Regions from separate parts of the Homo sapiens genome. Here region 2 is linked to region 1. The links are contacts of gene promoters, found by promoter capture Hi-C in blood cells and fetal thymus (Javierre and others, 2016). All regions are on one chromosome and are shown on one strand. The core of a region is centred on a gene start or on the middle of the fragment in contact, and the rest is flanking DNA. Distances in the headings are between cores, read along the strand shown. Region 1 holds the start of IER3IP1 (immediate early response 3 interacting protein 1). Region 2 holds the start of ARK2N (arkadia (RNF111) N-terminal like PKA signaling regulator 2N).

The links. Contacts are between HindIII fragments. The CHiCAGO score rates a contact against its expected background, and 5 or more counts as called.
Region 2: a contact is called between the fragment with the promoter of ARK2N here and the fragment with the promoter of IER3IP1 in region 1, in 1 of 17 cell types (naive CD8 T cells). The highest score is 5.3, in naive CD8 T cells.

What each region holds. Positions count from the first base shown.
Region 1 is chr18:47,174,902-47,177,830 of GRCh38, reverse strand. IER3IP1 (immediate early response 3 interacting protein 1) reads left to right here and starts at 1,467. Exons shown (of 3, transcript NM_016097.5): 1 at 1,467-1,644. The coding sequence starts at 1,554. RefSeq lists enhancers at 1,299-1,428, 1,439-1,558. The HindIII fragment of the contact is 4,620 bases long and covers 1-2,896 here.
Region 2 is chr18:46,172,621-46,175,549 of GRCh38, reverse strand. ARK2N (arkadia (RNF111) N-terminal like PKA signaling regulator 2N) reads right to left here and starts at 1,516. Exons shown (of 5, transcript NM_145055.5): 1 at 1,220-1,516. RefSeq lists enhancers at 503-632, 1,233-1,282, 1,313-1,572, 1,893-1,942. The HindIII fragment of the contact is 7,725 bases long and covers 1-2,332 here.

The DNA.
Region 1 (2,929 bases), core at 218-2,717:
ACTTCACACCTCTGTGTGTGTCTTTAATTCCTCTAGCACCGCTGGGTTAGGGTCTCCCCAACCGAGCTGGTCTTGGCATACCCTTTTCATTGGTTTTTTGCCTGCTTTATATCCTGGCCACTCCAGCAGCTGATTAGATGGTGCCCACTTGGATTAAGAGTGGACCTGTCTTTCCCAGCCCACTGACTCAAATGTTAATCTCCTTTGGCAACACCCTCACAGACACACCCAGGATCAATACTTTGCATCCTTCAATCCAATCAAGTTGACACTCAGTCTTAACCATCACATACAGCTAAGCAGGAGGCTAAGGCAGGAGGACTGCTCGAGCCAGGAGCTGAAGGCTGCATTGAGCTATGATGGTGCCACTGCACTCCAGCCTGGGCAACAGAGCAAGACCCTGTTCCTGGGGGGGGAAAAAAAAAAAGAAGAGGCTCAGAGGATCTTGGTTGGAGTTTGGTCAAGGAGGGGATGTTTCTCACTGAGTAATTTTAAAACAGTTATTTTGTTTTAGCATTCTGAAATCTGAAATGGGAATATTAGTATCTCCTGTATCTCCTGGGAGCATCAAGTGCAGTACTGAGCAATAGAAATATAATGCAAGCGTCACATGTCATTTACAGTATCTTCATAACCACATTAAATAAAATAATTAAAAATAAACAAGAAACCTTCCTCCCTTCCTTCCTTCTTTCCTCTTGCTCTGTCACCCAGGCTGGATCTCGGCTCACTGCAGTCTCTGCCTCCCGGGTTCAAGTGATTCTCTTCTCTCAGCCTCCTGAGTAGCTGGGATTACAGGAGCCCACCATCACACCCAGCTAATTTTTGTATTTTCAGTAGAGACAGGGTTTTGCCATGTTGGCCAGACTGGTCTCGAACTCTTGACCTTAGGTGATTTGCCCGCCTCGGTTTCCCAAAGTGCTAGAATTACAGGCGTGAGCCACTGCGCCCGGCCTCAAAATATTTTCATTTCAACATGTTATCAACATTTAAAAATTATTGGGAGGCCGAGGAGGGGGGAATCACGAGGTCAGGAGATTGAGACCATCCTGGCTAACACGGTGAAACCCCGTCTCTACTAAAAATACAAAAAATTAGCCGGGCGTGGTGGCGGGCACCTGTAGTCCCAGCTACTTGGGAGGCTGAGGCAGGAGAATGGCGTGAACCCGGGAGTCGGAGCTTGCAGTGAGCCGAGATCGTGCCACTGCACTCCAGTTTGGGCGACAGGGCCAGACTCCATCTCAAAAAAAAAAAAATTATTGGGATATTCTTCATCCTTGTTCCAGTTCCAAGTGTGTGAAATCCGGTGTGTATTTTGCACCTGCAGCACTGGCCACATCAGAGCATTGATTGCACATCACCGGTCTAGACAAGCGGCAGGACTTGCAGTCTTCAGCGAGGGGCGGTTCTTAGCCAGATGGAGGCGGGGCTTCCCGGAGAGTTCGTTTTGGGCCCCATCGGCTTCCGTAGGAAGGCGCCGGCCGTGGAGGCGCCACGTCCCTTGCGGCGGCGGGAGAGAAATCGCTTGGACTTCGGGGCGGCCTCGGACGGCCATGGCCTTTACCCTGTACTCACTGCTGCAGGCAGCCCTGCTCTGCGTCAACGCCATCGCAGTGCTGCACGAGGAGCGATTCCTCAAGAACAGTGAGTGGGACCGCGGGGCGCGGGCTGGGGCGGCGGCGGAGTCCCCGGGGGCGCGTAACCTAATGGGGCCGCGTGAGGGGACACCAAGGGCCGGGACAGAAGAACAGCGGAAGGCTCGGCTTGGAGTGGAAGCCGAGCCTTTCCTCTCATCAGGTTTGGGCTCAACAGCCGGGAGAATATTCAACAGACACCCGCTGTGCAGGGCCCAGGGGGTTGGGGTGGAGGGATATAGAAGTCAGTCAGGGACGCCTCTGCTTGCGATTACTTCAGGTCAGTAATTTAATTCAGTTTTCTGTGACTACTTTTTTTTTTGAGGGGGAGTCTCGCTCTTTTGCCCAGGCTGAAGTGCAGTGTCGCGGTCCTGTGACTACTTTTAATAGTCGAAAACCCGGGGTCTGAGTTTCGGGCTAAGAGTTGGGGGTGTGGGGCCGGGCGCGGTGGCTCCCGCCTGTAATCCCAGCACTTTGGCAGGCCGAGGCCGGCGGATCATGATGTCAGGAGTTTGGGACCAGCCTGGCCAACATGGTAAAACCCCGTCTCTACTAAAAATACAAAGATTAGCCGGACGTGGTGGTGGAAATACAAAAATTAGCCGGGCGGGAGGCTGAGGCAGGAGAATCACTTAAACCTGGGAGGCAGAGGTTGCAGTGAGCCGAGATTGCGCCATTGCACTCCAGCCTGGGCAATAGAGTGAGACTCCGTCTAACAAAACAAAACAAACAAAACAAAACGAGTTGGGTGTGGAGGGGAAGGAGGCGTGACCCATTTTGGAGCATCAGTAGTTCACTAACTGATGGAAGGCAATAAGTGTTCCTGGGCTTTAGGAATTACAGGAAGGGAACGTGTTGGAGTTATCAGGACATTCAGACACTCATGTTCCAAGAAAAGTTTATTCAGATAGCTTATTGGGTGCATAGAGTGTGCCAAAAACTCTGCTAGAATTTAGAAATTCAAAAATGAAAACACAAGTTATACCTTCCAGGACCTCACGTTGTGTACCAAGTATGCCCGTTTGAATCACTGAAACGTAAACCCAGGAGCAAGATTGATTCATTTCATTTACTTCAGAAGATATTTATTGAGTGCAAAGTATGTGCCAGGCCCATTTATAGTAACTGAAGTTACAGCAGCTACTCTGCCCTTCTGATGGAAGTTAATCTAAATAAAAACTAAACAAATGACAATAACAAGTATAGAGAGTATTATGTAAGAGAAGTACGGGCAGATACTAACTTGTGTATCTGCGAAAGCTTCTTGGAGGAAGCGTGTCTAACCTGAAATCTGA
Region 2 (2,929 bases), core at 267-2,766, 1.0 Mb after region 1:
GTAACTATCAATTGTAGGCCTCTAAAAATGCTTGTTAAACCAAAAGGCAATGCTCTGATTACTGGAGGAATCTAGATTGCCAAGATCAGCAAAACTACATTAGAAAGTTAATAGCTTCCATCCTTAAAATATCCCAAGAGAAGAAAGGGAGTGATTCTGTTAGCATGTACCCAATACTACACAATAAAAGCCTAAGCAAAATTGGCAGATGTTTTTGTAATTAAGAGGTCCAACCTTGACGAAGTATCATCAGTAGGATTTTAATTCTACTGGGTAAGAGGATTCAGAAAGCAAAAGGTCAGGCAAAAAACGAAAAACCCATCCAAACAGAAACTGCTCAAGGATCTGGTAGGGCTCGTACCGATGTTCTCTACTTCAACCTGTGAGCATCAATTTTGTGATGGGGGCTGCCGGGGACGGGGGTCGGGGCGGGGGGGTGGACAATTTTAAAGTGAGAATGAATGGCTTGCGTAAAGGCGATAGTCTTTAACACGGGTTCGTCAGTGTACATCCTCGCCGGTTTTGAAATAAAGTTGACAAACTCCCCAGAAGCGGTCTATTTTGGAGACTGACACATCTCTCGCATTGACTGGAGGCGCCTGCCGACCGAAGGTAGTGGAAGCGCCGAGAGGCAGGCGGCGCCAAGCCTATAAGAAAGCCTTTTCTCCCTCCACCAAGGCCACTGCGGCCGCGGCGCCGGAGCTCTCCGCTGCAGGGGCAGGTGTCGGCGCCAGACCCCCTACTCTCGGAGCTGGCGGAGTTGCCGCCACTGCTTCCCCCGCGGGCCTAGGAGCCGGAAAGTTGCGTGAAGACAACTCCAGGGCCGTGAAGTCGCTTCCCCCCGCAGCCCGGGGACTGCGGCACCTCCAGCCTCCCCTCAGCACCCCCGGAAAAGGACTCGCCTCAACCCGGCCCCAGCGTCTGGGGGCTTGGAGTGCCGGAGCCAACTCCGCCGGGCCGGGAGGACGCTAGGGTCACCAACGGCGGACGAGCAAGGAGGTCGGAGAGGTGCGATGCCCCAGCGTCAGCCGGCAATCCAGGCTGCGAGTTCCCGGCGCCCACCAGCCAGGCCCGCTAGGACCCCAGCGTCCGGACGCCGCAGAGCCCTCACCGCGGCCCGCAGCCCTCCGATTCGCCCCGACCCCTCCCTGGGACGCAACCCGGGCCCCCCAACTCGACCAGTAGCCAGGCCGCGGCCCTGCGCCCCTTCCCGCCTCACCTGCGCTCCGCGGCGACTCCGTGCCTTCTCGCTCGCTTCGCGCGCGCCCCGTCGGGGCACGCACCGAACCCCCGGCCGGGACTCTTCCCCGCTGCGGTGACTCAGGACGCGACGGCCACCGCCGCCTTCTCCTCCTCGGAACAAGCCCCGGCAGCGAGCAGTGGGTCGCGGTCAGAGCCCCTGCCGGGACCAAAGTGAACCTCGCCGCCTCCGCAGCCTCTACCACCAAGTCCCTTCAGTCGTCCGCGCCGCCCCCAAGAAAATGTCACCAGAGGCCGTTCCGCTGGGCGCCTCACTTCCGCCCGGAAACACAGAGCCCGCGTCGGCCGGCTAGAGAGGCAGCTGCGCCGGAGACCTCTGGAGACTGGCGCCCGAGGCCCGAGAAAAGCCAGACAGCGCCATCTGGCGCGATGGAACCCGCGCTCCTCCCGCTGCAGACCGCGGGGCGTGAAGGCGCCGGCTCCCCGGGCTTCTTTCCCGCGCTCCCTCCTTCTGTTGAGACCGTCACCTTCCCGAAATGTCTTTCCCGGGGGGTGGGAAAGCCACTCAATGCAAGCCAAGGACAATGCCTTCAGCAAAGGACAGCGCTCCCTTTTCTGTGCGCTGCTCAGTACTCACCCCCTCCTGAAGCCCTTCCGAAAGCAGCTTGCGGTGTCTGAATCCCAGAGTCGCTCCAGCGGAGAGCCCGTGCCCTTCTCTCCCCGCTTTTTCGCGGATGCCGATAGCTGGGCTCGGGGAGACTCGGCTGAGCTCTTCTCGGGCAGCGGCACCAATATCTGCTCAAGTTTCTGTCCGGGCACCTTGCAGGCCTTGCAGATCGACCGCCACCTGCTGGTGGGACGTGGCCCGCTGGGGAGACCCCGCTCTGCCCCGAATTCCGCCTCTGCAGTCGCCCTCCGATTTGCAGTCAGCCCTGGGGAGGGTGGGGGAAACGAGGTGGACCCGAACCCCGAAGAAGGGGAGGAGGGCGCAGGCCCACTGGCGGGTGGAGCGTTTCCCAAGGAGGAGCAGGAGATGCTGAAGACATATCTCAAGACTCAAGATCTGGCCAAGGACCCGCGCTCCCCCAAAGCAAAGCAGTGTTTTGAGAAGAAAAATAATAATAATAAAGCTTTGAGGAGGAAAATGTAAACGGTCTTTACCTTTACAGAGCTGTGCTGGAACCTCGGATGAGACCCGTCAAGAGGAGATTCTGAAAATCTCACACCACTGGGTCCGCACTCCCCTAAATATCAGTCTCCCCCTTCAGACCAGGCCCCTTAGTTCCCCCACTTCACTCATTTTTTCTGACTGCCTACAGGAGTGCGAGTTTTTCATCCCCAACTACAAGAATAAATTAAGAAAAGAAAATAATTTTATTATACCAGGCACCTTGCATTTAAATGGGTTAAATCCACTGAATCCTCATTACAACTCATAACAACCCTATGAGTTGGATGGCGTTACTAGTCCCAAATTGCAAAGGTGGAAACTGAGGGACAGAGTGACCTGCCCAAGATGACACATCCAAGTAAGTGGCAGTGTTGGATTCCAACACAGGCAGAGCTTACTTTCTTAACCACAGCCACCAACTGCCTCACTGAGAATCACAGAGAACGTAGTGTGTGCTAGCTAAGTAGTTTATCCGTGTATGTTATTTCACTCGTTCATTCATTTATTTACTTTCTGCTACCTGAGTCCTCAAGGGATTTGAGAGGTTATGGGGTAGTG